Regions from separate parts of the Homo sapiens genome. Here all the other regions are linked to region 2. Evidence: promoter capture Hi-C in 16 types of primary human blood cells and fetal thymus (Javierre and others, 2016). All regions are on one chromosome and are shown on one strand. The core of a region is centred on a gene start or on the middle of the fragment in contact, and the rest is flanking DNA. Distances in the headings are between cores, read along the strand shown.

Region 1 (4,945 bases), core at 529-3,028, 180 kb after region 2:
TACAGCTGTACAAAAATATTTTTCTTTCTTTAAATCCTTATTTTATTAAGTTTTTTTGTATTTTAAAATTTTATTTTAAAAATTTATTCTTTTATTTTTTATTTTTTGAGACAGGGTCTCACTTTGTTGCCCAGGCTGGAGTGTAGTGGTATAGTCTAGGCTCACTGCAGCCTCCACCTCCTGGGCTCAGGCGATAATCCTTTCACCTCAGCTTCCTGAGTAGCTGAACTACAAGTGTATGCCACCACTCCTGGCTAATTTTCTTTTTGTAGAGATGGGGTTTCGCCTTGTTGCCCAGGCTGCTCTGGAACACCTGAGCTCAAGTGATCTGCTTGCCTTGGCCTCCCAAAGTGCTGGGATTACAGGCATGTGCCACCACGCCTGGCAAAAATTAAAAAAAAAAAAAAAATAATGGGGTCTTGCCTTGTTGCCCAGGCTGGCATTGCACTCCTAGGCTCAAGTGATCCAGCCTCAGCCTGCTGAATAGCTGGCACTAGCTTGGTTTTTAAACTTTATTTTTTGTTTTTCTTTTTCTTTTTTTCTTCTCTCTTTTTTTTTTTTTTTTTTTGAGACAGAGTCTCACTCTGTCTTCCAGGCTGGAGTGCAGTGGTATGATTGGGGCTCACTACAATCTCTGCTTCCTGGGTTCAGGTGATTCTCCTGCCTCAGCCTCTGGAGTAGCTGCGATTACAGGCATCTGCCACCACACCTGGCTAATTTTTTTTTATTTTCAGTAGAGACAGGGTTTCACCATATTGGCCAGGCTGGTTTTGAACTCCTGACCTCAAGTGATCCACCCATCTTGACCTCCCAAAGTGCTGGAATTACAGGCGTGAGCCACCGCCTCTGACCAGTTTTTATTTTCTTATTTTGAAATTTTTTGCAAAGATGAGGTCCTCCTATGTTGCCCAGGCTGTTCTTGAACTCCTGGCCTCAAGCAATTCTGCATTGGCCCCTTAAAGTGCTGGGATTATAGATATGAACTACTGTGCCTGGATTTTTTTTTTTAACTGTTTAAACTATTTTGTTAAAATTTAAGACAAAAAGACACATGTTAGCCTAGCCCTACAGAGTCAGGATCATCACTATCTCTGCCTTCCATCGCCACATCTTGTCCCACTGGAAGGTCTTCAGGGCAGTAACCCACATAGAGCTGTCTTCTATGATAAGAATGCCTTCTGGAATACCTCCTGAAGGACCTGCCTGAGACTGTTTTACAGTTAACTTTTTTTGTAAGTAGGAATATACTCTAAAGTAATGATAAAAGGTATAGTATTGTAAATACTAGGTGATAAGAATTTCTCAGCTCCATTATAATCTATGGCACCACCATAGTATATGCAGTCTGTGCTTGCATCATCATTATGTGGTGCATGATTGTATAGTATAATTTAAACAGGGCAGTATGTTATCTTATATATCAGATGCATTTCTTTTTTCTTTCTTTTTTTTTTTTTTTTTTGAGACAGAGTTTCGTTCTTGTTGCTCAGGCCAGAGTGCAATGACCCGATCTTGGCTCACTGCAACTCCGCGCCCCCTCACCCCCACCCCCGCCAGTAGCTGGGACTACAGGCACCTGCCACCATGCCAGGCTAATTTTTTATTTTTAGTAGAGACGGTGTTTTTCCATGTTGGTCAGGCTGGTTGCGAACTCCCAACCTCAGGTGATCCGCCCACTTCTGTCTCCCAAAGTGCTGGGATTATAGGCGTGAGCCACTGCGCCCGCCCAGATGCATTTCTTGAGACACAGAATCATAGACCATACGAAGTTCTTATTTTCTTCCCTTTGTCAGATTCATTGGCTTTCAACTGATTTGTTTCTCCAGTTCTTTTGTTTTTTGAGAAATTTCAAACATGTGAAAAGTTGATAAACTATTATAATACACAAGTATCCTTTTCTCCTAGATGATAGACTGTAGAATAATGAACAATATACTTGTCACCTACAAATTGACATTTTTTTTCATTTGTTTGCTAAGCTAATTGAAAGGAAGTGGGAGCCAGTGTGCCTAGCCTATTTCTTTCTCTTAAACAAAATGTAGATACTCTATACCCTATTTTGTACTTTGCCTTTTTCACCTAAGAGTATATACTGGCAATCACTCTGTATCTGAATATAAGATCTTCCTCATTTTTTGTGTGTGACTGTATAATACTTATTTGTGTGGATGTATTTACTTTATTCAATGAAACCTCTACTGATGGACATTTGGATTGTTCTCAGTTTTGTGCTATTAAAAGAATGCTTTGATGAATAACTGTGCATTTATTGTTATGTATTTGTGGAGGTGTGTTTTCAGGTAGATCCTAGAAAAAATTGCTGGATTAAAAGATAAATGTGTAAATAATTTTGTTAAATGTTACTAAATTTTTCTCTATAGTGTTTGTGCCATTTTATATTCTGCCATATATGTGTTTTTTTAATCCACATCCCATCAACAAAGTATGTGGTCTGACATATTTTTTGTCAATCTCACAGAGATTAATGGTGTATCAGAGTAATTTCATTGAGGTTAATCATTGCTCCATAAGTTTAAGGGGCGATTTTCTTTATTCTTTTGCTTATACTATAAACAGATTTTTAATCTTTACCTTGATTTTTTTAAAGGAAATTTTTTATGTGTTAGGAAGATGAGCTTTTTGTGAAATAAGTTGCCAAGTATTTTCTTCAGTCAACTTGTCTTTTATCTTGGCTTATGGTGTTCGTTGTCATGTAACGTTTATTTTATGTAGTTTATTTTTCTACTCCCATATTTTATTGGTACTGGATTTTGAGTCATAGTCTTTTCCCACTGCTAGATATACTTTTAGCACTAGTATGATTTAATTCCTTATGTTTAGATCTGTGATCCACCGGGGGATCCCCTTCTGGTGTGTAGTGTGAAGTATAGACAGAATTTTATTTTTTTCCAAATAATATTTTTTTCCAAATAACAATCCAGTTATCTAAGTCCTGCTTATTACATTTAAAAATCCATTCTTCCCTTAGTATATTGAGAAATTACCTTCATGATAGACTAGATTTTTCTTCTGTTTCATTGTCTTTCTGTTCACTTCCTTGCTAATACTCTCCTGATTTAAATAAAGAGGCTTTATAGTACATTTTAATATTAGTTGGGTTTTAACAGCTTTATGGAGATACAATTCACATGTCATACAGTTCACTTACTTAAAGTGTACAATTCAATGGTTTTTAGTATTGTTTACAGTGTTGTGCAGCTACCACCACAATTAATTTTAGAACATTTTCATCAGCCTAAAAAGAAACCCCATACCCATTAGCAGTTGCTATTTAGTATTCTTTCCCACCTTCTACCCCTAGGTAACTATTAATCTACTTTCTGTCTGTATGGATTTGCCTATTCTGGACATTTCTTAAAAACTGAATCACTGTATGTGGTCTTTGTGACTTTTTTTTTTTTTTTCACTTAACATGTTTAGCTGCTTGTGCTTTTGGTGTCATATCTAAGAAGGCTTTGTCTAACCTAAGGTCACAAAGATTTATTTCTGTTTTTCAAAGAGTGCTATAGTTCTTACATTGATTTTGATCCATTTTTAGTTTTTTGATGAGTAGTATAAGGAAGGGGTCCAGCTTCATGCTTTTGCAGGTGGATATCCAGTTATTCCAACACTACATATTGAAAAGACTATTCCTTCCTGATTGCATTGTCTTGGCACTCTTGTTGAAATCAATTGACTGCAAATATAAGGGCTTAATTTTGGACACTCCATTTTATTCTGTTGATCTATATGTTTATTCTTATGCCAATACATTGCACTGATTACTGTAGATGTGTGGTAGTTTTGAAGTAGGGAAGTGTGAGTCCTCCAACTTTCTTCTTTTTCCAGATTGCTTTGACAAGAAAAAACAAAAGCAGCTGGGGTTTAAATAGGAATTGCATTGAATTTATTGATCTATTTGAGGGTATTGCCAAAGGCAGCTGGAATTTAGATAGGAATTGCATTGACTTTATTAATCTATTTGGGGGTATTGCCATCTTATCAATTTTCATTAATTCATTTTTCAGTTTTCATTAATCAAATTGAAGATTGAATTAATCAGATTAATTCAATTTTCATTAATCTATTTGAGGGTATTGCCATCATTGTCTTTTTGTCCATAAGCATGAGATGTCTTATTTATTCAGCTCTTTAATTTCTTTAAATAACGTTTTATAGTTTTCAGAGGATTTTTAAAGCTAAAAAATTGACAAATTATGAAGCGAATTTTTATGAAAACATCTGAATACTTGGTGAAACTTCTAGGAATTGACCTGAAGATGTTTGTGGTGTTGCCCCTTTCTTTTTTCATATGTTTCTTATAATAAGCAATACAAAATCAAGTTGTTCAATCCTGTTTACACTTCTTAAATTATGTTTTGGCTTTTGAAAAATAGTTTAGAGACTTGTAGTTCCCAAAGGAATAATTTTAATTTTGGTTTCTAGTGAAGATTTGGGAAACAATAGGAGAGACCAAAAAAATTTTCTTTGATTTCAAGAAGAAAACCAGCATTAACCTGAAATGCATGTACTATATATATGTACATATGTATGTGTGTATGTATATATCTATATCTATTTCTTCCCCTTCCTGCCATGCAGAGTTCTATATGAAGGGAAAGAACGGCTTATTCCAGGATGTGAAGTGATCCTAGCCACACCCTATGGTCGCTGTGCCAATGTCAACAATAGTTCAACTACTTCACAAAGAATCTTTATCACTTATCGAAGGGCTCCTCCAGTTCGACCCCAGAATTCCTTGGCTGTAACTGATATCTGTGTTATTGTAACCAGTAAAGGAGAAACTCCTCCTCATACCTTCTGCAAAGTTGACAAAAACTTAAATTGTGGAATGGTAAGAATAAAGTTTTCATCTTCAAAGTTTCATATGAAACCAAAAAGGGATACGTTTTGGATTCCTGTTTACTGTTGGGTATATACTCAC
Region 2 (5,153 bases), core at 551-3,050:
CAAAGGAAAGATAAATGTTTGAGATGATGGCTATCCCATTTATCCTGATCTGATCCTTATACATTGTATAAGTGTATCAAAATATCAAAATTTTATATCCCCAAAATATGTACAACTATGAACATAAATAAAACAGGCCAGGCTCGGTGGCTCACATCTGTAATCCCAGCACTTGGAGTGGCCAAGGCGGGGGGATTGCTGGAGGCCAGGAGCTCAAGACCAGCCTGGGCAACATGCCGACCCTAGGCATGGTGCCACGCACCTGTAGTCCCAGCTACTCAGGAGGGTGAAGTGGGAGGATCGCCTGAGCCCAGGAGTTGGAGGCTGCAGTGAGCTGTGATCGCACAACTGCACTCCAGACTGGGCGACAGAGTGGGAGACCCTGTCTCAAAACAAAAAACAATGGCTCATATCTATAATCCCAGCACTTTGGAAGACCGAAGCAGGAGGATTGCTTGAGCCCAGGAATTTTGAGACCAGCCTGGGCAACATGGTTAGCTACTGTCTCTAAAATAATAATACTTTAAAAAAATAGAGGCCGGGCACGGTGGCTCACGCCTGTAATCCCAGCACTTTGGGAGGCCGAGGCAGGTGGATCATGAGCTCAGGAGATCGAGACCATCCTGGCCAACATGGTGAAACCCCGTCTCTACTAAAGATACAAAAATTGGTTGGGCGTGGTGGCAAGTGCCTGTAATCCCAGCTACTCGGGAGGCTGAGGCAGGAGAATCGCTTGAACCAGGGAGTTGGAGGGTGCAGTGAGCCGAGATCGTGCCACTGCACTCCAGCCTGGCAACAGAGGGAGACTCCATATGAAAGAAAAGAATTCCTCTTGGCCTACAGTGGGAATGATTAAATAGAGATACTGGCTAAAGTTGATAAAACAGAAGTGGAAAAAGTAGGGAAGGGGCTTTTACTTTCCATACTTTTCTTAAAAGGGTATTTGTTTTTAATACCCTTCTCCGTTGTTTTATGCTAACTCCAACATGCCTTACTAATTAAAAAATTAAAAATTATAAAATTAAACAACCACCTTCAAAGGCTCCCTTGAGTCCAAAAGGTGTTTTGTACATATGGTTCCCATGCTCTTCCACTACCACCCGCCATCCCTCCCACTACTTCACAGACCACCCCTCCACCACATAGGCAGAGTTAAGCTGCTCCTCCAGTCTTGCACTCTCCCCATCTGCAGACTTTTGCACTCCCCTACAGAGCGCTTCCGGCACTCTTGCATTATTTACTGTCTGTCTCTGCCCCTAGGCTGGCAGCAACTGGGAGTAGGAACTTTGGAGCCAATGCCTGGCACAGAGTAACTGCTCAACCAATTCTGATTAATCAACCTCCGGGGTCTACAAAAGGGGGAGTCCCCCGGCGTCCCCCGGTTCAGGCTCCCTCGCCCCGCCGGCCCCGGCCTCCTTACACTCCGAGGTGCGTGTGCGACACGATCTTTCCGCAGGCAATGGTTGCCGGGCCTGGCTCGAAGCCGAGCGCCTGCAGATACATCCAGAGATGCTCCTTCTCGAAAGCGGTGACCGAGGCCGAGCTCATCCTCGCGGTAGGCACGGTGGCTGCAAAGAAAGAAAGCGCAAGCCCAGGGGACTCGGAGGGCCCTCAAGATCCCTCCCTACGGTCAGCCTGAGGTCGCGGTGGTCCTTCCATTGCCAACGCCTGCTCCTTTCACGCCCAGAGCGATTTCGCCTCAAAGGGCCTCACAACCTCCGGGAAATTGAGTTTCTAACGGTATAGTGCGGCCACCACTGCCTCAGCGAAGCCACCACAAACCGAGACTCCCGCCCTTAAGGAAGAGCAGTGTGCGCCGGCGCCGCCAGGCGTCCGAGGGAGGAGGGACTTCCGGCAAAGACTATATCTCCCGCCATGCAATGCGTCCTTCTCTCCTCCCTTCCGGCCATGCCCAGCCAAGAAACTGCAAGACCCACCGGGCATTGCGCGGCCAGCGACTTGCTCTGCGCTTGCTTAACCGCTGTCGTGCCCAGATCCTCGGGCCTTCGGGTTTCTGATTCTTGGTTAGTGGGGTCCATTTGCTTGTGTATCCTAGTTGTTACGTCACAAAAAAGCCATAAATGGAGCACTATGCCTCGGTGTAGAGTTAAAGCATTGGTTCCATCCTCCGCTATGCTCACTGTGACTCTAATCAAGTCACGTAATCTCTGAGCCTCATTTCTGTCGTTAGCGAAATCTATGTCCTCAAATGCCGGATGTTCCTTTTCCTGCTTTAAATGAAATCTGGCTCTATACTCCCCTGCAGTCCTGCAGTCTTTTTTTTTTTTTTTTTTTTTTTTGAGACGGGGTTTCGCTCTTGTTGCTCAAGTTGGGGTGCAGTGACGCGATTTCGGCTCACTGCAACCTCCGCCTCCCGGGTTCAAGCGATTCTCCTGCCTCAGCCTCCCGAGTAGCTGGGATTAACAGGTGTCCGCCACCACGCCCGGCTAATTTTTTTGTATTTTTAATGGAGACGGGGTTTCACCATGTTGGCTGGCTGGTCTCGAACTCCTGACCTCAGGTTATCTGCCGGTCTTGGCCTCCCAAAGTGCTGGGATTACAGGCGTGAGCCACTGCGCCTGGCCGCCTGCAGTCCTCTTAATTTTTTTTTTTTTTTTTTTTTTTTTTTTGAGACGGAGTCTAGCTCTGTCTCCCAGGCTGGAGTGCAGTGGCGCAATCTCGGCTCACTGCAAGCTCCGCCTCCCAGGTTCACGCCATTCTCCTGCCTCAGCCTCCCGAGTAGCTGGGACTACAGGCTCCCACCACCACGCCGGGCTAATTTTTTGTATTTTTAGTAGAGACGGGGTTTCACCCTGTTAGCCAGGATGGTCTCGATCTCCTGACCTCGTGATCCGCCCTCCTCGGCCTCCCGAAGTGCTGGGATTATAGGCGTGAGCCACCGCACCCGGCCCGTCGTCTTAATTGACAGCTGTTGCCTACCACAAACCCCACTGACAACAGGGCCTGGAAGTGGATTGGGTAACCTGCTTTTAAGTCTCATTGCTACCTCTGGCAATGATTGTCTCCTGCCTCACTAAAATCACCTTAATAAAAGAGAGAGAGGCGGGGCACAGTGGCTCACGCCTATAATCCCAGCACTTTGGGAGGCCAAGGTGGGCGGATCACCTGAGGTGGGGAGTTCGAGACCAGCCTGACCAACATGTAGAAACCCCGTCTCTACTAAAAATACAAAATTAGCCGGGCGTGGTAGCGCATGCCTGTAATCCCAGCTCAGCTACTCGGGAGGCTGAGGCAGAAGAATCGCTTGAACCCGGGAGGCAGACGTTGCAGTGAGCCAAGATCCTTCCACTGCATTCCAGCCTGGGCGACAAAGTGAGACTCTGTCTCAAAAAAAAAAAAAAAAAAGAGGAGAGAGAGAGAGAGAAAGAAAGAAAAGCCACTAAGTTGCCCAGGCTGGGCTCGAACTCCTGGGCTCAAGCGACCTGCCCACCTTGACCTCCCAAGGAATGAGCCACCGTGCCCAGCCTAAAAGCACCTTTTGAAGTTTATGCTATCACCCATAGCTTTTCATTATGGAGGTCATCTGTAAGATCTCTGACTCCATTCTGGTGGTGCACGCCTGTGGTCCAGCTGCTCAGAAGGCTGAGGTGGGAAAATCACGTGGGCCCTGGGAGGCTGAGGCTGCAGTAAACTGTGATTGCACGACTGCACTTCAGCCTAGTGACAGAGCAAGACCCTTCTCAAAGCAAAAGAACAGCCACAAAAAAAAAATCTCTGACTCCTGTCGACAAAAAGAGTCAAAGTCTGTAAAATTGTTGCCGGAAAAAACAGAGTCCTGATCCAGACCCAAAGAGAAGGTTCTTGGATCTCGTGCAGGAAATAATTTGAGGTGAATCACAGAACACAATGAAGGAAGCAAGTTTATTGGAAACTACTCCGTTGAAGAGCGGAGCAACCTCAGAAAGCAGGCGGAGGAACACAAGGTCCTTTGTTACTGTCTCTGCTTGTAAGAAACTATAAAGAGCTGTGATTAAACTTGGAATGCGCAGATGTGCTCACTAAAGGTAGGGCTATTGTGCTTTCAGAGACCATTAATCTTTCAACCTAAGCTTGCTCATTAACGTCATCTTTAAGTAAAGTGGGCTGCTCTTTAGAACATCTGGACATTCTGCAGGCTTAGTGGGAGATGTCCTGTATGGCCATAAATATTCTGTAATTATAATTGGTGGCCAGCTTAGAATGTGGCTATTTTTAAACCATAAGCATTAATTTTATAGGAGCCTTGTAAGTGCCTAGCTACTTTAAGATGGAGTCACTCTAGTCATGTTTTATTAAACCAGAGGTCTGGTAAGCAGGGGTTCCTCTAACAGAATATTTAAAGAGGTTTATTCTGAGCCAAATATGAATGACCATGGCCTGAGGCACAGTCTCAAGAGTTCCTGAGAACATGTGCCCAAGATGATGGGGCTATAGCTTTGTTTTATACAGTTTTAGAGAGACATAAGACATCAATCAATACACGTGACGTATACATTGGTTCTGTACAGAAAGGTGAGGCAACTCAAAGTGGTGGGTTCAGGTCATAGGTGGACTCAAAGATTTTCTGATTGGGGCGGATGTGATGGCTCACACCTGTAATCTCTACACTTTGGGAGGCCGAGGCAGACGGATCACTTGAGGTCAGGAGTTTGAGACCAGCCTGGCCAACATGGTGAAACCCCATCTCTACTAAATATACAAACATTAGCCGGGCATGGTGGTGCGCACCTGTAATCCCAGCTACTCGGGAGGCTGAGGCAGGAAAATCGCTTGAACCCGAGAGGCTGAGATTGCAGTGAGCCGAGATCACACCACTGAACTCCAGCCTGGGCGACTGGGTGAGACTGTGTCTCAAAACAAAACAACAACAACAACAACAACAAAGATTTTATGATTGCCATTGGTTTAGAGTCAAGCTACTATCTAAAGACCTGGAATCCATAGAAAAGTTTCTAGGTCAAGATAAGTGGTTGTGGACACCAGGGTTAGTATGAAGTCTCATAGGTGGCCACCCAAAAGTACTAGAAGCTGGATGCGGTGGCTCACACCTATAATCCCAACACTTTGGGAGGCTGAGGCTGTGGATTGCTTCAGCCCAGGAGGCAGAGGTTTCAGTGAGCCCACATCATGCCACTGCACACCAGCCTGGGCAA
Region 3 (4,772 bases), core at 965-3,464, 200 kb after region 2:
TTTGGGGCCATTTTATTTTATTTTGATTCTTTCCATAAAATTGGAATGTGTGCTTTGTATAGATACTAGAAGAATTAACATGCAAAAAGCTGTTAGTATTTTTATTGTGCTTATGATCATCGTCATGGCTTGAAAATTTTAATTACATTTGTTCTTAGCATTGCTTAGTAGTATTTTATAGTCATTTAGTTTTGGAATGAAGTTTAAGGTAAACAAAACAGACTTAACTGCTTTTCAGTGGTCCCTTTTCAGTAATACTAGTTACTTATATATTTTTTATTGCAAATTTAAAATTTGGTTAATTTTTTAAAACTTTTTCCCCAGATGATCTTTCCATTTCAGTGGCAATGCCCATATATTCCCCTTTGTCCTCTTTCACTGGCTGCAGTGCTTAGTGCACCTTTACCATTTATAGTTGGAGTTGACTCAAGGTATTTTGATCTTCATGACCCACCACAAGATGTTGTTTGCATTGACTTGGATACGAACATGTTATATGTGTAAGTTGATTCATTTTATATTATCTCCCATTTATATTTTTCACTATGTAGAGTTACAGTTCTTTGAAAGCATCTAGAAATATGCTATTTTTGGTAGTTGTTAAATCTTCGTCTTAAATACAGCAGCTCTCAACCAGGGCAGGTATCAGAATCTGGGAATGCTGTGTGATTTGGGAAAAAAAAATGTTCAGTATTATAATAGTTTATATTTGGGTAACAATATTAAATGTAAGCAGGAGATATTTATGTTTATCAGAAGAGACTATGAGTTGGAAAAGTAATGGTTAAACACTGCTTTCAGAGCTCAAGAGATGATATGCTTTCTGGGTTTAATTCAAAATCCATATGTAAGTAAAATGGGTTTACCCATTGGAGATAAAGTTTGGCTACAGTATAGGGTGATATTATACCATTTGCTTAGTTGTCGGGATTTTAATTTTATAAGGATCTGTTGTTTACTGCTTAGAAATTTATATTAAAAATCAGTGATAGTTTGTGTTTGCTGAAGGTGATAATTAAGTACAGCAGTGGTACAGCTGAGGGTTCAGAGAGTAGCAAACTACATTAATAAAAGAAATAGTTCTGGATGGATGTTTAAGGGTTACCACTTCCCCACCAAAAGTGGGAAAGGACAGTAAGTATTAAAAATGTTCTTATGTTGGTGCCAACTTCCAGGCCGTAGAACGCTTTTATTCTTTACTGTTTGAGATTGGTAGAAAATGAAGAGAGAAATATTTTGGGTAAGGCCTGAATAGTTCCAACAGTAGAATTCGTTGGGAAAATATTTTTATGTGAACCAAAAAAATAACCTAAGGGAGGAAGAAAACATTTGCTATAACTTAAAATATAATTTTGACATGGATCTACCATTGTATTTTGAAACTGTATAGCTATAGTGGCTCCTTATGTATATTTAGATTTACTTACAGCTTGAAAGTAATGAACAACTTGCATGAATTAGTTTTTTGTAGCACACATTTTATTGTTTGTAGGCTACTCTCCCTGAAAAACAATTATTTCAGGAATGTATTCATTGTGGTACTTTTAGAAATGATTATTTGTGAAGTTAATACTCAGATTTTTTACCTTATTTTATTTTTATTCTGAATAAAATAATATGGAGATTCTTAATTTTGCGCAGTTTTGAGTAACTTTTATAAAACTTCTGGTAATCAAAACATTATTTTCTAAAATAAATGTGAAGTGTTTGCACAATTGTATTTATTTATTTATTTATTTATTTATTTATTTATTTATTTATTTATTTTGAGACAGAGTCTCACTGTGTTGCCCAGGCAACAGAGTTGCAGTGGTGCAATCCTGACTCTCTGCAGTCTCCGCCTCCTGGGATCAAGTGATTCTCCTGCCTCAGCCTTCCGAGTAGCGGGAATTAACAGGCGTGTGCCACCACACCTGGCTAATTTTTTTGTATTTTTAGTAGAGATGAGGTTTTACCATGTTGTCCAGGCTGGTCTTGAACTGCTGACCTCAGGTGATCCACCCACCTTGGCCTCCCAAAGTGCTGGGATTACAGGCATGAGCCACTGTGCCCGGCATGCTCAATTGTGTTTAAAGAATTATAAAATGTGCCCAGGTGTAGTGTCTCACACCTTTAATCTCAGTACTTTCGGAGGCTGAGGCAGGAGGATCACTTGAGCCCAGGAGTTTAAGGCCAGCCCGGGCAACTTGGTGAGACTCCATCTACATAAAATAAAAAATTAGCTAGGAGTGGTGGTGCGTGCCTGTAGTCCCAGCTACACAGGCAGCTGAGGAGGAAAGATCACTGTAGTCCAGGAGGTCGAGGCTGCAGTGACCCATGTTGACCCACTGCACTGCAGCCTGGGTAACAGAGCAAGACTCTGTCTCAAAAAAAAAAAAAAAAAAAAGAAGAAATACCTCCAAATTATACAGAATAATGTAAATAACTTGTATCTATTCACCACAACTTTATTAAGAAATAGGCCGGGCACAGTGGCTCATGCCTGTAATCCCAGCACTTTGGGAGGCCGAGGCAGATGGATCACCTGAGGTCAGGAGTTCAAGACCACCCTGGCCAACATGGTGAAACTCCGTCTCTACTAAAAACACAAAAATTAGCCAGGCATGGTGGTGGGCGCCTGTAATCCCAACTACTCGGGAGTCTGAGGCAAGAGAATTGCTTGAACTGAGGAGGTGGAGGTTGCAGTGAGCGGAGATCATGCCATTGCACTCCAGCCTGGGCGACAGAGCGAGACTCTGTCTCAAAAAAAAAAAAAAAAAGAAAATATTAGCAATAAATCTGAAATCCCTAGATAGTCCTCCACAACCATATTTTGCTCCTTTCTCCCAGAGAGGAGCTCCAGATCCAACCATCATCTTGGATAAACTCCAAATCCAACCATCATCTTAGATTTGGAGTTTATCACATACATGTATTTTTCAAACATTTATTATATATATATTAATCTAAATAAAATTTTGTTTTGCATACTTATAAATTTTTTTCTACTTGAATAGTTTTCTGTGAATTACTTTTTTGCTCACCATTCTTTGTGAGGTTCATTCAGTTCATTTTCAACAGTGATCAATGTTGATGGACATCTAGGTTGTATCTAGATCTTTGATGTTAGGAACAAAGCTGTTCTGATCATCGTATATATTTCCTTGAGTATATGCTCAGGAATTCCTCTGAAGCATATACCTGGAAGCGCTAATGTTGCTTGGTAGGGAATGAGCATTTTCAACTTAATAGCTAATACCAGATTACTCTCCCAAGTTTACTCCGTCCTCAGCAGATGAGAGTTCTCTTTGTTTCATATCTTTGCCAACACTTGTGGTGACTTTTAAATTTTTTACCAATTTGATGGTAATGGTATTTCACTGTGGCTTTAATTCACATTTCCTTTATTAGTAGCAAATGGAGGATTTTCATATCTTTGTGCCCCTTGGTTTTCCTCTCCTGTGAATTGGATGTTCCTTTTGTTGGTACATTTTCCTGTTAGATTGTTTGTCTTTTTCTTTTGATTTGTAGAAATTGTATATATAATCTGGAATTAATTCTTTGTCTGCTGTATGCATTCCAGATAGCTTCTCCCACATTGTGACCTGTCATTCCATTGTGTTTATGGTATCTTTTGATAAACAGGGGCTCATCTTAATTTATCAAATTTATTAATTTCTCTTTATGGAGTACTGTTTTTGGTTCTTGTATATGAGATATTTTGCCTTGAGGCCATGAAATACTATCATGGTTATTTCTTAAGTTGTGAGGTTTGCCTCTCTCATTTAGTTATTTAATTCAGCTAAACTTGATGTGACATATCAGTTTCTACATTTGTATAAATATGTATCTGGGCTAATTCTTTTCCTTTGATTTGCTTCAATCTCTTGCCAGTATTATACTGTCTTAATGGCTTTAAAATTAAGTTGTCTACAACATGAATGAACCTTGAAAACATTATGTTAAAAGACCTTATATTATAATTCAATGAAATGTCCAAAGCAGACAAATCTCTAGAGGTAGAAAGTAGATTGATTAGTGATTGCCTTGGAATGAAGAGGATGGGAGTATTGGAAGCTAAGTGACTATGGGATTTCTTTTTGAGGTGATAAAAATATTCTAAAATTGCTTGTAGGCCGGGAGTGGTGGCTCACGCCTGTAATCCCAGTACTTTGAGAGGCTGAGACGGGTGGATCTCCTGGGGTCGGGAGTTTGAGACCAGCCTGACCAACATGGAGAAACCCCATCTCTACTAACAAAACAAAACTAGCCGGGCATGGTGGTGCATGCCTGTAATCCCAGCTATCCGGGAGGCTGAGGCAGGAGAATTGCTTGAACCCAGGAGGCAGAGGTTGCAGTCAGTTGAGATCGTGTCATTGCACTCCAGCCTGGGCAATAAGAGCAAAACTCCATCTCAAAAAAAAAAAAAAAATTGATTGTAGTGGTGGTTACACAATTCCGTGAATATGATAAAAACCATTGAATTGCACAGGTCAAATGTGTGAATTGTATGGTGTATGAATTTATATCTTAATAAAACTGTTTTAAAAAGTCATGGTATGAGACTTTTTTTTTGGCAATGTCCATGGTGAATCCCCTTACTCCTGTTCTTTTTAAAAATTGTTTTGACTCTATTTGGTCTTTTGTTTTTCCATGTAAATTTTAATACCATCTTATTAAGCTCCACACAAAATTACATTGGGATTTTTGTTAGAATTTTTTTTTTTACCTTTTAAATTTTTTTTAATTGATATCGTAATTGTATATATTTATGGGGTGCAATGTGATGCTTT
Region 4 (5,118 bases), core at 2,610-5,109, 220 kb after region 2:
TATTTCTATTTTATTTAAGCTTTTCTCTACTAATTAGTATCTAAAAGGGATGGCAGTCAGGACCACAGCATCAAAGAAAGAAAGGCTGCAGAGAAAACCATGTTTGAAATGGTGGCATTAACCAGGTTATGCAGGATCTTTTAGGATTAGTGCTGGTTTCAGTTTTTATCCTAAGAGTAATTGGAAGCCTGTAAAGGATATTTCATTAGGTAATAGGATCAGATTTGCATTTTTTGAAAAGTCACTCTTTGAAATGTTAAAAAGAAGAATCTCCTTGGCTTCCATACAGAGATTGCACTGGAGACATTGAAGCATGGATCTACTAATTAGGAAGTTGTCACATTGGTTCTAGGGATTATTAGAGGTGACCTGGATTAATTGATGATAGTGTGAATAGAAGAGTGATTTTTTTAGGAATTAGATTGAGTAGAACCTGGTGATTGAATATGGAATGTAAGGTAGAGTGGGAGATATCAAGAGCACCTTTGAGGTTTTTGCCTTTAACAACCAAGTGAATGGCCATGCCCTTTATAAGAAGTAAAACAACAGAAAAAAGGGAAGGAGCAGATCGAAGGTTTTTTTTTTTGTTTTGTTTTGTTTTGTTTTTGTTTTTGTTTTTTAGATGGAAAAAAGAGACTTGAGTATGCTGATGAGAAATAGCTAATAGAGGCCAGACGCAGTGGCTCACGCCTGTAATCCCAGCATTTTGGGAGGCTGAGGCAGGTGGATCACTTGAGGTCAGGAGTTTGAGATCAGCCTGGCAAACATGGCGAAACCCTGTCTCTACTAAAAATACAAAAATTAGCGCATGCCTGTAGTCCCAGCTACTCAGGAGGCTGAGGCAGGAGAATCACTCGAACCTGGGAGGTGGAGGTTGTAGTGAGCCGAGATCACGCCACTGAACGCCAGCCTGGGTAATAGAGTGAGACTCCATCTCAAAAAAAAAAAAAAAAAAAGAGAAATAGCTAATAGAGAGGGAGATTTATCCTGAGAACACTGGAAGGGGCTGGAATCCTGAAGTCATGTGATGGTTTGTCCTTAGATAGGAGGAGGGACATATCCACTGTAAAAAGGCAGAAGGAATAAAGGATAGCTGTTAAAGAGTCATAAATTATGTAGTGAGATAGTGTACATAGTTTCTATTTAATGATCTGCATTTTCATTGCACTGAAGTATGCTCATTTCGGGGTGCGGAGGGGGCACAAAAAACATGAAGGGAGAGCGCATACAAATTGGAAATAGTTGTGAAAACATGTGAAGAGGAAAATTAAATTGATTCCAGAAATGTAGTAGGGTTGTTGGTGAGGGATGAAGGTATAAGTGCTTCTGATCTGCCTAGTTGTGGAACTTTTTTTCCCCTTAACTTGTGCTCAGCCACCCTAATGCAGATCCAGAGAAGGCAAGTAGTACATTCCTCCAGAGCTGGGTTATGCTAGGTAGGTTTAACCAAAAAGACAAAAGAGCAGAGGGGTTGAGAGTATTGACAAAACAGTAATTGAAATGATGGATATAGCATGGAATCAGTATTGGACGGAGAAAGAAGTGAAGATGGGAGGATGTACATAGAAGTAAAAGGGCCAGTGGAGGCCAGGCGCGGTGGCTCAGGCCTGTAATCCCCGCACTTTCGGAGGCCGAGGTGGGCGGATCACGAGGTCAGGAGATGGAGACCATCCTGGCTAACACAGTGAAAAATTAGCCAGGCGTGGTGGCGGGCGCCTGTAGTCCCAGCTTCTCAGGAGGCTGAGGCAGGAGAATGGCATGAACCCGGGAGGCAGAGCTTGCAGTGAGCCAAGATTGACTGCACTCCAGCCTGGGCAATACAGTGAGACTTCATCTCAAAAAAAAAAAAAAAAAAAATAAGGGGGCCAGTGGATTGGAGATTTCCATGAGCCTTCCCTCTCTGCTCCCTGCACAAAAAACCCAAAAAACCCTAAAACACTTAGTAGAAATACTTAATTAAGGAGACCAGATAGGCAGAGCTAATGGGCTGGGAGTGATGTGAAAAAGAGATTTGAGAGGCAATGTTGTTTTGAATGCTGGCAAGGAAAGTCAAGGGACTGTGACTGTGTGTTGAAGTTGGTGATTGAGGTAGGATGGAGCATAGGATCACTGAAAATCAAGGAATGAAGGCTGGGCATGATGGCTCATGCCTGTAATTCTAGCACTTTGGGAGGCTGAGATGGGAGGATCACTTGAGGCCAGGAATTCGAGACCAGCCTTGTCAACATAGCAAGACACCCATCTCTTAAAAGAAAAGAGGCTAGGTGCAGTGGCTCACGCCTGTAATCCCAGAACTTTGGGAGGCCAAGGCGGGCTGATCACCTGAGGTCCGTTCAAGACCAGCCTGGCCAACATGGTGAAACCGTCTCTACTAAAAATACAAAAATTAGCCAGTCGTGGTGATGGGCACCTGTAATCCCAGCTACTCAGGAGGCTGAGGCAGGAGAATCACTTAAACCTGGGAGGCAGAGGTTGCAGTGAGCCAAGATCACATTACTGCACTCCAGCCTGGGCGACAGAGCTAGACTCTGTCTGGAAAAAAAAAAAAAAAGGAATGAAGAAGAATCTAAAGTGTTTTCATGGTTTGTGCTTCTGGGTGTGGAAGAATGATGGTGGTAGGAATTAGAAAGGAGGAGACCTTGAATCAGATGCCTTGGTCTTCAGTGAATGAAGGAGTGTCCCTGAAATCAATAGATGTCTACGATTAATAGAGGAAATTGTGGAATAGTCAGATGCTTGAAACTTTAATGAGCAGAAATTTTAAAAACACAATACAGAAATAATGGTCTTGCAACATTAAAGAGGAAGGACATTGACTCTTTGGAAATTGACCATGGACTCAAGAGTATGCAGAGTATCAGAGAAATTTCTACTTAAAAGTTGTAGAGCTGGAGGTTCCTTATAGGGGATTTAGATTTCAGTGAAGAGTTTGATAGAAGTATTTTTCGTGGTTTAATTAGGCAGAAGGAGCTATATATGCAGTTACCACAGGTTGAGCTTCCCTAATCTAAAAATCCAAAACCTGAGATGCTGCAGAATCTGAAACTTTCTGAGGGCTGACATTATGCCACAAGTGGAAAATTCTACACGTAAGTACTTAACACACACTTTGTTTCATGCACAAGATCATTGAAAATATTGTATAACATTCCCTTCAGACTGTGTGTATAATGTATATGTGAAACATAAATGAATTTCCTGTTTACTTGGGTCTCATCCCCAAGATATGTGATTGTGCACATGCAAATATTTCAAAATCTTAAAAAAAAAAATCCGAAATCTGAAACACTTTTGGTCCCAAGCATTTCAGATAAGAGATACTCAACCTATAGAAGCTTCTTTTTAAATATGGATATATATATGTATATATAAAGAGAATGTAATATAGATAAGTACAAGTTTAATGTTTCCTATAATATCGAATTCCAGTTTAAAATTTGAATTTAATTATATTTTGTTTTCCTCAGGATTTTTAAAAAGTCGAGATCGTGCCTATGCAAAATTCTATACCCTTTTATCCAAAACACAGATTTTTATTCGTTTCATTGAAGAATGCAGTTTTGTAAGTGATAAAGATACTGGATTAGCATTTTTTGATGACTGCATAGAAAAGGTAAAAGTTTGTACTTATACTAGTGTTTAGAAAAAAAAGTTTGCCTTACCTGTGTAATTATCATTGTTATTGTTAGTCTAGAGTGATATAAGGAAAACAGAGTAGGGTTGTGTATGTGTGTGTATGTGTTACCGATTCTGGGCTGAATATATGAATAAAATTCTTTGTGGTTTCAAGTTTCTACCACATATAGCCAATTTTTCTATTCTTTATTCATTGATCCATTGATTGAAACAGCATCTCATTCTGTTACCCAGGCTAGGGTGCAGTGGCATGATCATAGCTCATTGCAACTTTGAACTTCTTGCCTGAAGTGATTTTACCACCTTAGCCTTCTGAGTAGCTGGGACTACAGGCATGTGCTACGCCCAGCTAGTTTTTTTAATTTTTGGTAGAGATGAGGTCTCACTGTATTGCCCAGGCTGGTCTCAAACTCCTGGGCTCAAGTGATCCTCCCGCCTTGGCCTCCCAAATCCTTGGGATTGCAGGATGAGCCGCCATGCCCAGCCAGTAAATTTTCTCTTTAAATCTCACTTTCGTTTTACAACTATTGAGTTGTAAAACTAAGAACATTTTCTTGAGCCTTGTGAGTTTATATTTTTTTAATTTAAATGAATAAGATTTAGTTTAAGATTTAGGTTTTTTAATTAAAAAATGTTTAGTTTTATGGGTAATAGAAGTTCTATGTTCTTTTGTTTTAATGTCTTTCCAGATTCTTTTGCCTAATATGTTTCTTTTGTTCTAATGGAGGGTGGAAATACGTTAAATTTTAAAGCTTTACCCACCCATCCTAAGGAAGTTAAAATTGATTCTTGACTTAGTTATAATTTTTCCTAACTTTTAATATAATTCTTATTTTTGCTAAGTAGATCTTGGGGCCAATTGTTTATGCAAACTGTATATTATATAACATTTGAGATTGTATCCAAAAAAAGTTGAATATTATGACATTAATTTTTATGGCCCCCTCATGATTCATATGCCTTAGAAGATTTAAATAATTTTCTCCTATCAGTGTGATCCAAAATTCCAGGGATATAATTAAAACTATTCAACATTTTTGTTTATTTACAAAATTGATATTCCAGTATCTTCCAGTTATATGAGAAGTTTAATGTCAATCACTAATAAAGGGGCTTAATAATAATGAAATTTTTTATTTGAGAAGCCAGATAACCTTGTGATTGGTCATCTTTTGTCTTAAGGTTTACAAAACAACTAATCAAAATAGTTTTCTATCCTAATAGCCACAAGTAAAAAATTATGCTTTAGCCTAAGAGTATGTATTCAGCCTAAAAATATACTGTGCATGTTTTGTATCAGCTGGTACTGAAAAGGGGTAGTTTTTTTCTAAATCAGAATGTAAGATAAAAATGTCTATTAAATTCATAGTGGACATTTTCATTAAGAATCTGTTTTCTTTTTTTCTAGTTGTTTCCTGATAAAGGCACAGAGAAAACAGATAAGGTATGTTTTTCTTAGATTTTAAGGGTTGAAATTTCAGA

The links. Contacts are between HindIII fragments. The CHiCAGO score rates a contact against its expected background, and 5 or more counts as called.
Region 1: a fragment that was not itself captured here is called in contact with the fragment with the promoter of HAUS6 in region 2 in 6 of 17 cell types (M0 macrophages, M2 macrophages, M1 macrophages and 3 more); the score reaches 15.7 in M0 macrophages.
Region 3: a contact is called between a fragment that was not itself captured here and the fragment with the promoter of HAUS6 in region 2, in 8 of 17 cell types (naive CD8 T cells, total CD8 T cells, erythroblasts and 5 more). The highest score is 9.1, in naive CD8 T cells.
Region 4: a fragment that was not itself captured here is called in contact with the fragment with the promoter of HAUS6 in region 2 in 14 of 17 cell types (erythroblasts, total CD8 T cells, total CD4 T cells and 11 more); the score reaches 13.9 in erythroblasts.

The regions. Positions count from the first base shown.
Region 1 is chr9:19,282,167-19,287,111 of GRCh38, forward strand. DENND4C (DENN domain containing 4C) reads left to right here. Exons shown (of 33, transcript NM_001330640.2): 3 at 4,603-4,855. Among named protein-coding and RNA genes, the nearest start is that of DENND4C, 54 kb to the left of the region's middle. The HindIII fragment of the contact is 9,952 bases long and covers 1-4,945 here.
Region 2 is chr9:19,101,104-19,106,256 of GRCh38, forward strand. HAUS6 (HAUS augmin like complex subunit 6) reads right to left here and starts at 1,801. Exons shown (of 17, transcript NM_017645.5): 1 at 1,421-1,801. The coding sequence starts at 1,548. RefSeq lists an enhancer at 1,480-2,043. The HindIII fragment of the contact is 8,228 bases long and covers 1-4,068 here.
Region 3 is chr9:19,305,028-19,309,799 of GRCh38, forward strand. It overlaps DENND4C (DENN domain containing 4C), which reads left to right. Exons shown (of 33, transcript NM_001330640.2): 10 at 325-500. Among named protein-coding and RNA genes, the nearest start is that of RPS6, 73 kb to the right of the region's middle. The HindIII fragment of the contact is 6,309 bases long and covers 1-4,772 here.
Region 4 is chr9:19,320,895-19,326,012 of GRCh38, forward strand. DENND4C (DENN domain containing 4C) reads left to right here. Exons shown (of 33, transcript NM_001330640.2): 13 at 3,468-3,613; 14 at 5,045-5,080. Among named protein-coding and RNA genes, the nearest start is that of RPS6, 57 kb to the right of the region's middle. The HindIII fragment of the contact is 1,053 bases long and covers 3,334-4,386 here.